Linked DNA regions of Homo sapiens: region 2 is linked to region 1. Evidence: promoter capture Hi-C in human tissues and cell types (Jung and others, 2019). All regions are on one chromosome and are shown on one strand. The core of a region is centred on a gene start or on the middle of the fragment in contact, and the rest is flanking DNA. Distances in the headings are between cores, read along the strand shown.

What was found. Contacts are between HindIII fragments. The study calls those that stand out against the background at their distance.
Region 2: a fragment that was not itself captured here is called in contact with the fragment with the promoter of SPEM1 in region 1 in 2 of the 25 tissues and cell types used here (IMR-90 fibroblasts and spleen).

The regions. Positions count from the first base shown.
Region 1 is chr17:7,418,589-7,424,296 of GRCh38, forward strand. SPEM1 (spermatid maturation 1) reads left to right here and starts at 1,736. Exons shown (of 3, transcript NM_199339.3): 1 at 1,736-1,940; 2 at 2,039-2,099; 3 at 2,293-3,044. The coding sequence starts at 1,797. The coding sequence ends at 3,017. NLGN2 (neuroligin 2) reads left to right here. Exons shown (of 7, transcript NM_020795.4): 7 at 1-1,272. RefSeq lists an enhancer at 1,220-1,739. The HindIII fragment of the contact is 17,952 bases long and covers 1-5,708 here.
Region 2 is chr17:7,524,695-7,530,402 of GRCh38, forward strand. No RefSeq gene overlaps it. Among named protein-coding and RNA genes, the nearest start is that of TNFSF12, 22 kb to the right of the region's middle. The HindIII fragment of the contact is 5,415 bases long and covers 765-5,708 here.

The DNA of each region.
Region 1 (5,708 bases), core at 486-2,985:
CAGGCAGACGGCCCCTCTCTTCCCAGCACTTCCCTGCCTCCCCCAGGCCTCAGGCCCAGCACCCAGTTCCTCCTCACATGGCAGGTGAGCACAGACTTCTAGTTGGCAGGAGCTGAGGAGGGTGAACAAACCCCGAGGGAGGCCCGGCCCTTGCTCCCGAGTTGGGGGGAGGGGGTGTGGCAACGTGCCCCCCGCAGAGGCCACGCATGTTTGACCAAAGCCCTCATTGTGGTCCGAGGACAGCCTTTTCCCCAGGCCTCAGAGCATTGCTCATCCGTGCCAAACTGGGTAGGTGGATTTGAGCGGAAAGACTCCCAAAATGTGCCAAGAATTTCCCAGTCCCAGGCAGGGCAGGGGAAACTAAGGGCAAGCAGGATACAGGGCGAGGGATGTGGCAGGTGAGGGGGCTCCCGCCTGTGCCCCTTCTCCTCACCATGTCTCCCCCACCCTGCCTCAGTTCTCCGTTCCCCTTCATCTCCGTCCCCCTCTTTGAAGCTGTCCCCATCTCAGTGTCAGACCAGCCTTCTCCTCAGCTGACCACCCTCCTCTGACCCACGCCCCCTCCTTGTCTGAAAGAAAGGAGCCTTGAATGGTGGAGGGAGGCAGTGGGGAGAAAGGTCTCACCGGACAGGTTGGGAGAATGAGGTCAGCGGTGCTGGGGAACAGATGGAGGGGGCAGTGGGGACAGGGCTTGGGCAGACACCAGCAGGAATAATTTGAAATGTGTGAGGTGACTCCCCGGAGGGCCTTGGGCTTGGGCATTTGGGAAAAGAATGATGTCTGGAAGGGCTTAAGGGACACAGTGGACGAGGGGAGAGTCCTCATCTGCTGGCATTTTGTGGGGTGTTAGTGCCAAACTTGAATAGGGGCTGGGGTGCTGTCTTCCACTGACACCCAAATCCAGAATCCCTGGTCTTGAGTCCCCAGAACTTTGCCTCTTGACTGTCCCTTCTCTTCCTACCTCCATCCATGGAAAATTAGTTATTTTCTGATCCTTTCCCCTGCCTGGTCTAGCTCCTCTCCAAACAGCCATGCCCTCCAAATGCTAGAGACCTGGGCCCTGAACCCTGTAGACAGATGCCCTCAGAATTGGGGCATGGGAGGGGGGCTGGGGGACCCCATGATTCAGCCACGGACTCCAATGCCCAGCTCCTCTCCCCAAAACAATCCCGACAATCCCTTATCCCTACCCCAACCCTTTGCGGCTCTGTACACATTTTTAAACCTGGCAAAAGATGAAGAGAATATTGTAAATATAAAAGTTTAACTGTTGGTTGTGCCTGCTCTGTTGTGGGGAGGGCGGTCTCTAAAGAAACAAGCCCTGGGGAAGTGACGAGGGAGGAGGGGTCTTTTCAGTGACCAGCTCTGAGGTCTGAGAGGAAGGGGGAGTGTGTGCTGGGGTCTGGTTGCCATGGTAATGGGTCTGTTTGGCAAATGAATGTCAGGACCCGTGTCTATGCCGAGACTGGAGCCTGGTGTCGTTCTATAATGGAAGGACAAAGGCTGATGGGGGCAGATGTCAAACAGGCCAGAGGCCCAGTGGGCTGGTGTAGGCAGCTAGCTCAGCAGAGGTATGTGAGGTGAGAGGCATGGCCTCTGCCAAGGCCTGGACTCAGGCGAGAGGGTCAGCCACGGGTCCAGGACTCAGGGTAGCCCCTTGGCACACTGGAAGGGAGTGGCCTGGCACCATTGTGACCCGTTCACTCCCAAGACCCTCAGGGACAGGCAGGCAGTCAGTGGACACTGTCGGCACGGTGGGCTGGGGGCGTAAGGGCCCCGGTGGTCCTAGGGACCCCATGGCCATGGTTGAGCGGCCGAGGCCCGAGTGGGCCTCGTATCACAACTGCAACAGCAACAGCTGCCAGGACCTGGGCAACTCTGTCCTGTTGCTGCTGGGCCTCATCATCTGCATTAACATTAGCATCAATATAGTGACCCTGGTCAGGGTGGGGCCAGATGGGAGGGAGCTGGTGGGATAGTGGGGGGCAGGCCTGCCGGCCAGGGCCTACCTGGGATCACTGTGTCTTCCCCCACCTAGCTCTGGAGCCGATTCCGTGGTGTCTTATACCAAGTGTTCCATGATACCATTTGTGAGAAAGGTAAGAGGTCTGGGGGCTGGGACATAGGAGGGGCAGAAACCAAGTGCTCTAGCCTCAGCCCTAAATTAGCCCCTTCCCTTCTTGCTCGCCCCTCTCAGACAACATAGCTGTGTGGCTGCCCTTCCTGGGCCCTGCCTCTCCATGCCTGTAGGAGCTGGCCTCCCCACTAGTCTCACCTCTCCCCCATCCACAGAAGCTCCCAAGTCATCATTACTCAGAAAGCAGACCCAGCCCCCTAAGAAGCAGAGTTCTCCTGCAGTCCATCTTCGGTGCACCATGGACCCTGTGATGATGACTGTGTCCCCGCCCCCAGCTCACCGCCATCGCCGTCGAGGCTCTCCCACACGCTGTGCTCACTGCCCAGTAGCTTGGGCTCCTGACACTGATGACGAGAAGCCTCATCAGTACCCAGCCATCTGCTCCTACCACTGGGATGTCCCTGAGGACTGGGAAGGCTTCCAACACACTCAGGGGACCTGGGTTCCCTGGTCTCAGGATGCCCCAGAGTCCCCTCCCCAGACCATCCGCTTCCAGCCTACCGTAGAGGAAAGGCCCCTCAAAACAGGCATATGGTCCGAGCTGGGCCTAAGGGCCTATGTGTATCCTGTGAACCCCCCACCTCCCAGCCCTGAGGCTCCTAGCCACAAGAACGGTGGGGAGGGGGCGGTGCCAGAGGCAGAGGCGGCTCAGTACCAGCCTGTCCCAGCTCCCACCCTGGGCCCAGCAGTCATCCCTGAATTTTCCCGGCACCGCTCCTCAGGCCGAATAGTGTATGATGCCCGGGACATGAGACGGCGGCTTCGGGAACTGACCCGGGAGGTGGAGGCCCTGTCCGGCTGCTACCCCCTAGCCTCTGGATCCAGCACTGCCGAGGAGACAAGCAAGAATTGGGTGTACCGTTCCCTAACTGGGAGGTGACTGGAAAAAAATAAAAAGGAGAGAGGAGGTGATCTGTGGTGGTGCTGGGGTGCCAGGGCCCACACAGCACCTAGAAGCTGTGGCTGTGAAGAGAATGCTCTCCCTAGCCACAGGGCCCTGAGCCCTGAGGACCCTCATTAACCTTTTGCCCCACAGGCCTGTCCCTGTCCTCAGCCTTTCCTAGGCCCTTCTGGGTTCCAAGGCTCTTACCTGCCTCTACCTTGTTTTCAATTTTTTTTTTTTTTTGAGACAGGGTCTTCTCTGTTGCCCGGGCTGGAGTGCAGTGGTGCAATCACAGTTCACTGCAGTCCCAACTGTCTCCCACCTCAGCCTCCTGAGTCACTAGGACTACAGGCATGGGCCACTAGTTTGTTGTTGTTGTTGTTGTTTGTTCGGTTGGTTGGTTTTTGTGTGGGGGGGGTTGTTTTTGTTTTTAAGACAGAGTCCTATTCTTGTCACCCACACTGGACTGCAATGGCACAATCTTGGCTCACTGCAACCTCTGCCTCCCAGGTTCAACCAATTCTCCTGCCTTCAGCCTCCTGAGTAGCTGGGACTACAGGCGTGTGCCACCATGCCCTGCTAATTTTTGTATTTTTAGTGCAGATGGGGTTTTGCCATGTCGGCCAGGCTGGTCTTGAACTCCTGACCTCAGGTGATCCGCCCGCCTCAGCCTCCCAAAGTGCTGGGATAACAGGTGTGAGCCACCCCACCCCAGCCGCACCACTATTTTTTGTAGAGATTGGGTTTCACTACTTTGCCTAGGCTGGTCTCAAACTCCTGGGCTCAATCGATCTGCCTGCCTCAACCTCTGAAAGTTCTGGGATTACAGGTGTGAGCCACTGTGCCCGGACTGTTTCCTCCCCCTCCCCTGAGGCAGGGTCTTGATCTGTCACTCAGGCTGGAGGGCAGTGGTGCAATCATGGCTCACTGGAGACTCAACCTCCTGAGCTCAAGCAGTCTTCCTGCCTCAGCCTCCTGAGTAGCTGGGACAACAGGCACCACCACGCCCAGTTAATTCCTTGTTTTCTTTAGTGCACAGAGAAGCCCCTAAATTCTACCCCAGGTCCCCAGGCAGTCGTGCACTAGAGGAGAGATCTCCATCTCCATGGCCCTAGCTCCTCAGAAGGCTGGTGCCTGCCAGAGCCCAGCGTTAGGCTGCAGCCACCGGTGAGGCCTGGTTCCCACGTAAGCCCTGATTTATTTGGGGAGGGATGGCTGAGAGGGCGTCTAGTCCTTCACAGTTCCCCAGTCACCCTGAAGGTCCTATACCCTTAAGCAGGATTGGAGCAGAGGAGGAAATATTGGGGCCCCCTTGGCTGGGCGCAGTGGCTAACGCCTGTAATCCCAGCACTTTGGGAAGCCGAGGCGGGCGGATCACGAGGTCAGGAGGTCGAGACCTCTTGGCTAACACAGTGACACCCCGTCTCTACTAAAAAATGAAAAATAAAAAATAAAAAAATTAGCTGGGCATGATGGTGGGCGCCTGTAGTCCCAGCTACTTGGGAGGCTGAGGCAGGAGAATGGTGTGAACGTGGGAGGCAGAGGTTGCAGTTAGCCAAGATGGCGCCCCTGCACCCCAGCCTGGGCGACAGAGCGAGACTCCATCAAAAAAAAAAAAAAAGGCCGGGCGTGGTGGCTCACATCTGTAATCCCAGCATTTTGGGAGGCCGAGGCGGGCAGATCACAAGGTCAGGAGATTGAGACCATCCTGGCTAACATGGTGAAACCCCATCTCTACTAAAAATATGAAAACAAAAAATTAGCCGGGCGTGGTGGTGGGCGCCTATAGTCCCAGCTACTTGGGAGGCTGAGGCAGGAGAATGGTGTGAACCCAGGAGGCGGAGCTTGCAGTGAGCCGAGATTGCACCACTACACTCCAGCCTGGGCAACAGAGCGAGACTCCATCTCAAAAAAAAAAAAAAAGAAGAGAAATATTGGGGCCCCCCTCAAGAGGTACCTCACTGTAACATCACAGCTCTCTGTGACCTCACTCCTTTGATTAACTCACCATGTCACCAGTGAGGAGACTAAGTTCAGAGAAGCTAAGGGTCTTGCTCATGGTTACACAGACACTGAGGATCAAGCTCATGGCCTCAGATGCTCCATCCCATTGCTGCAGAGCCAGCCTGACCCACCAGAACCTCCCACCTTCCCCAGTTCACCATGTGAACTCAGAAACTGAGAAACAGAGAAACTCAGGCCCTGCCTTTCTGCTACACAATTGGGATCATATGCACATGCACACACATACCACTTGAGAACAAGCAGCTGTGTGCGTGAGCCCAGGCTGAGGGAGCTGGACTTCACCTTCCACTCTAGACAGATTCCTGGAATGTGAGCAGACGGACCGTTTACAAATGGCCCTACTTCTCTCATTCAACTAACGTTACTGATCATTTTCAATGGATTCCATTCAGTGGAATCTGAATCTACTCTGCATCTACTCTGTGTTTGGAGGCTGGATGGGATATGATCACTGGCCTTTCTTTCTGCTGAGTGGTTCACTGTGTAAACAAATGGCTTGCAGTCTCCAGGGCACCACAGACCCCAGTGATGCACCTGTTTTAAGTCAAACACTCTTTTTGGTATATTAACAATTACATGTATTTTGTGCTTTGTTAATTTCATGTGGTTTTCTTGTTGTTGTTGTTGTTGTTGTTGGGTTGTTTGTTTGTTTTGAGACAGTCT
Region 2 (5,708 bases), core at 2,222-4,721, 110 kb after region 1:
CGCATTCGAAAGGAGCACAGACAGCGGGGCCAGTGGCTCACACCTGTAATCCCAGCACTTTGGGAGGCTGAGGCGGCCGGATCACCTGAGATCAGGAGTTGGAGACCAGCCTGGCCAACATGGCGAAACCCCGTCTCTACTAAAAATACAAAAAAATTAGCTGGGCACGGTGGCTCACGCCTGTAATCCCAGCTACTCAGGAGGCTAAGGCAGGAGAATCGCTTGAACCTGGGAGGTGGAGGTTGCGGTGAGCTGAGATTGCTCCACTGCACTCCAGCCTGCCAGCCTGGAGTGCAGCGACAAGAGTGAAACTCCGTCTCAAAAAAAAAAAAAAAAAGAAAAAGAAAAAGAAAGAAAGGGGCACAGACTGAAGATGAATGGCTACTCATCTAGAAAGAGGGGAACAGGTCTGTCCCTGGTTCCTTTCCCTTCCTAGCAAATACCCAGAGTACGTGAGGGAGAGAAAGTGAGGTGTCACTCCTTCTCTCTTCTGTCCTTGTATCCCGGAGTCCCAGCAACCATGACAGGTTCCCACCCATGGGTGTCAAAGTGGTTTTCACTCATATTAACAGGGGGTTCTAGGGGGTGGGAGTATTTACTCTTACCCACATATGCCCTATCTCCCCTGCTGTCAGTAGCTTTTAAATTCCCTAGACCTCATTTATGCCACAGATACTAGCATGATCTTTATCCATGGAACGGGAAGCTTGGCTTAATCAGCAGGAATTAATTATGCTCACCTGCACTGTGCCTTTTAACTTCCATTATCACCTGCCTCTGGATCCCTCAGATCCAGTTTTCTTTCTAGGGCTTTGACCTGAAGCTTGAAATTGAGTTTGGGACAAAAATGTTTTTTGGGGGGTTGTGTGGACTCCTTATCATAAGCTGAATGCTAGGGTGAAGATGTGGGATTGAGTCTTCCTCCAACAAAGGAGAGAAAAAGATGTCTTGTGACATGGCCAGATAACTGGTGGCTATAGTTATGCTTCCTGGGATTTGGGTGCATGAGGCTTGGCTTTTGTTAGCTCCCTTGGTCTTACTTTCCCACAGAGGAAACCTCTGGGTTATGGGCACTGTATTTATTCCCATCACCTGGAAGGATTTGCAGGATAATTGCTCAGAACTAGAATATTGATCCAGATTTTTACATTACCCATCCCTCTTGTTGTTTCTGAGCTGCAGCCAGAGATCCCTGGTTGGTTTACAGGAATAAGCAGGGTTAGTTTAAAATGTAGGCAAAACTTAGAAACAACTAATGAGTCTAAACTTTAATGACAAATATATAAGTTTTGAAATATAATTTCTCTCTATATATTTTTTTAATCTTTTTTTTTTTTTTTTTTTTTTGAGATGGAGTTTCACTCTTGTTACCCAGGTTGGAGTGCAATGGCACAATCTTGCCTACCAGGTTCAAGCGATTCTCCTGTCTCAGCCTCCCATGTAGCTGGGATTACAGGCATGCGCTACCATGCCCAGCTAATTTTGTATTTTTAGTAGAGGCAGCATTTTTCCATGTTGGTCAGGCTGGTCTTGAACTCCCGACCTCAGGCAATCCACCCACCTCGGCCTCCCAAAGTGCTGGGATTACAGGTGTGAGCCCCCACGCTCAGCTTCACTCCCTCCCCTCTTTCCATCTCCCCTCTTTCTCCCCTCACCTCCCCTTCCCTCCCCTCCCCTCTCCTCTCCTCTCCTTCTTCCTTACAGAGTATTGCTCTGTTACCCAGGCTGGAGTGCAGTGGCACAATTTTGGCTCACCACAACCTCCACCTCCTCGGTTCAAGAGATTCTCGTTCCTCAGCCTCCCGAGTAGCTGGGACTACAGGCGCACACCACCACACCTGGCTAATTTTTAATATTTTCAGTAGAGACGGGGTTTCACCATGTTGGCCAGGCTGGTCTTGAACTCCTGATACCAGGTGATCCACCCACTTTGGCCTCCCAAAGTGGTGGGTTTACAGGCATGAGCCACCATGCCCAGCCTTCTAGTCCTCATTTCTGTTAAAAACAAATCAAGTTAGAACTCAGTTGTTTGCAAAATCGACTTTAATCTTATACTTGGCCTGATTATTTGCATAAAGTGCAGCAAAAATAATTATTTCTACATAGGCCTTTTAGATTGACTTTGATGGAACTCTGTTCCACAAGGAATTTCAGATAAGACCTTTTAAAGCTCAGGCCAGCCATGAGTTTGTATCCTCAAATACCTGTGAGTTGGGTAAACTCCTCTCTTCTTGAGGTCCCAAGAGCATGTGTTTTCTGGGCCTGTTGGAAAGTGACATTCTTTACTCATTGCAGGTTAGGAACCCTGTATGGAGACTGTGTAGACAAGGGCATGAAGCCAGTTTTACCAAAGGACTTTTATTGGCTCTGCAAGTTGAGATTGACTCCTTAAAGGGAAGCATACCATTCCAGTCAAAGCCTTGGTAAAACAACCAGTTTCTCCAATTGCATCCTGTTGCAAAAGAAAATGGATTCTTACTGCACTGATACAAACAACTATATTGTCATAAGTTATGAATACTCATAGATAGTTTCTAAATTCTAGAGGAACCAGGCAGAGAGAAACAAACATGCTCCAAATTTTGTTCACAGGAGTATACCCTACTCAATTTTTTTTTTTTTTGAGACGGAGTCTCGCTTTGTGGCCCAGGTGGGAGTGCAGTGGCGTGATCTCAGCTCACTGCAAGCTCCGCCTCCCGGGTTCATGCCATTCTCCTGCCTCAGCCTCCCGAGTAGCTGGGACTACAGGCGCCTGCCACCACACCCTGATAATTTTTTGTATTTTTAGTAGAGACACGGTTTCACCGTGTTAGCCAGGATGGTCTCGATCTCCTGACCTCGTGATCCACCCGCCTTGGCCTCCCAAAGTGCTGGGACTACAGGCGTGAGCCACCGCGCCTGGCCACCCTACTCAATTATTAAAGGCTGTAAATAATTCCTAATAATTTTCCTCGACTCTGAAAAATGAAACAAGGATCAGCAATGTTCCAAGCAAAAGTCCAGAAGATTACTTCAGTTTTCTATTAGTTCAGTCCATTCAGTTAACTCTTGTTTTGCTTGATATTCATGAACATTTCAGCTCTTCATGAGTCCTGTACATTTTTCCTGTGTGCCAATGTCACAATCTCCAAAGTTATCAGAAACTGATATTTGAGCATACTTGTCAGAGTCCTATAGCTTATTTTTTTTTTTAATTTTGCTTTAAGTTCTTGGATACATGTGCAGAACATGCAGGTTTGTTACATAGGTATACATGTGCCATGGTGGTTTGCTACACCTATCAACCTGTCATCTAGGTTTTTTGTTTTTTGTTGTGTGTGTGTGTGTGTGTGTGTGTGTGTGAGAGAGAGAGAGAGAGAGAGACGGAATTTCGCTCTTGTTGCCCATGCTGGAGTGCAATGGCATGTGATCTTGGCTCACCACAAGCTCCACCTCCCGGGTTCAAGTGATTCTCCTGCCTCAGCCTCCCAAGTAGCTGGGATTCCAGGCATGTGCCACCATACCCGGCTAATTTTGTACTTTTAGTAGAGACGGGGTTTCTCCATGTTGGTCAGCCTGGTCATGAACTCCTGACCTCAGGTGATCTGCTCGCCTCGGCCCCCCAAAGTGCAGGGATTACAGGCGTGAGCCACCGTACCCAGCCTATCATCTAGGTTTTAAGCCCCACATGCATTAGGTATTTGTCCTAATGCTCTCCCTCCCCTTGTCCCCCACTCCCTGACAGGCCTTAGTGTGTGATGTTCCCCTCCCTGTGTCCATGTGTTCTCATTGTTCAACTCTCACTTATGAGTAAGAACATGTGGTGTTTGGTTTTCTGTTCCTGTGTTAGTTTGCTGACAATGATGGTTTCCAGCTTCATCCATGTCCCTGGAGAGGACATGAACCCATTCTTTTTATGGCTGCAGAGTCCTGTAGCTTATGAAAAGGATCAAAACAAGACAACAATTGTCTGTGAATAACAAAATGTCCAGGGTAGTTACAGTTAGAAACACAATTGACAAAGAACTTTGGTTATCTCTGTGGTTTACAATAACTTAACAACCTTAATTATGACTGATAGCATATACTTTAGACATTAGAATTTTAGAAATCCCACACAATTTTGGAACATACATTAGTATTATTCACCAGAATATAACCTAAAGAAGATTGGACACCATTTTGGCAATCCCATGTAACTAAACTTGTCAAATAATTCTGTTTACCTCTCTTTTGGATACTGCAGGGGCCCTCTGTAGCATCCAAAAGCCAGCCATCAGGAAAGGCAATTTTGTAATGGAAGTTTAATTTCTGGAAGCCTGTTAAATATGTTAGAGGTTTAAAACACTTGATGTTATGAAATAGAATTCCAAATTACCACAAGTTATTTATTTTGCTAAAATGACTCAGAAATTTAAAAGAGCAAAAACCTTTTATAACCCTTTACAAATTTTGTTAAAGAGCAGATTAGTGCCTTATGAGTGTCTTGTTGTGCTTTTATTTCAATGCTCAACTTACAGAAAAACCATATAACACCCTTTTGAATTTAGTCAATATGTTCATACTTCACACATAGAATTTCTGGGTTTTTTTGTTTCGTTTTGTTTTGTTTTGTTTTGTTTGGAGACAGTCTCACTCTGTCGCCCAGGCTGGAGTGCGGTGGTGTGATCTCAGCTCACTGCAACCTCCACCTTCTGGGTTCAAGCAATCCTCCCACCTCAGCCTCTCGAGTAGCTGGGATTACAGGCGTGCACCACCACACCCGGATAATTTTTGTATTTTAGTAGAGATGGGGTTTTGCCATGTTGGCCAGACTGGTCTCGAACTCCTGACCTCAGGTGATCTGCCTGCCTCAGTCTCCCAAATTGCTGGGATTACAGGCATGAGCCACTGCACCCAGCCAATTTTAATTTTTATTAATTAATTATTATTATTATTATTATTTTGAGACAGAGTCTCATTATGTTGACCAGGCTGTTCTCAAACTCCTGGGCTCAAGTGATCCTCCTGCCTCAACCTCCCAAAGTGCTGGGATTGTAGGCATGAGCCACTGTGCCTAGTCTTCATTACTTCTTGAAGCATGGTTTCCTTAGTTATTTGAACATATTTATAATAAGTGCTTTGAAATCTTTTCCATTAAATCAAATGTCTGGGCTCTCTCACGGGCAGTTTTTGTTGCCTACTTTTTTGCTCCTGTGTATATGTCACGCTTTCTTTTTTCTTTGCAAATCTTAATAATTTTTTTGGCCTAAAACTGGATATGTAAAATAATATATTAGGCTGGGCATGGTGGCTCACACCTGTAATCCCAGCACTTTGGGAGGCCACGGTGGACAGATCACCTGAGGTCAGGAGTTAAAAACCAGCCTGGCCAACAAGGGGAAACCTCATCTCTACTAAAAATACAAAAATTATCCAGGCGTGGTGGCGCACCTGTAATCCCAGCTACTCGGGAAGCTGAGGCAAGAGAATCACTGAAATCCAGGAGGCTGAGGTTGCAGTGAGCTGAGATTGCATCACTGCACTCCAACTTGGGCAACAGAGTGAGACTTCATCTCAAAATAATGATAATAATATATTAGCAACTCTAATTCCTCTTTCCTCTCTGTAGGGCTTGTTTCTGTTGTTTTTTGCTTGTTTGCTTAGTGACTTGACTAGATTATTTTAGTGAAGTCTATTTCCCCCATATTGTGAAGTCTTTGGTGTCATTCTTCAGAAGATGTAGCCTT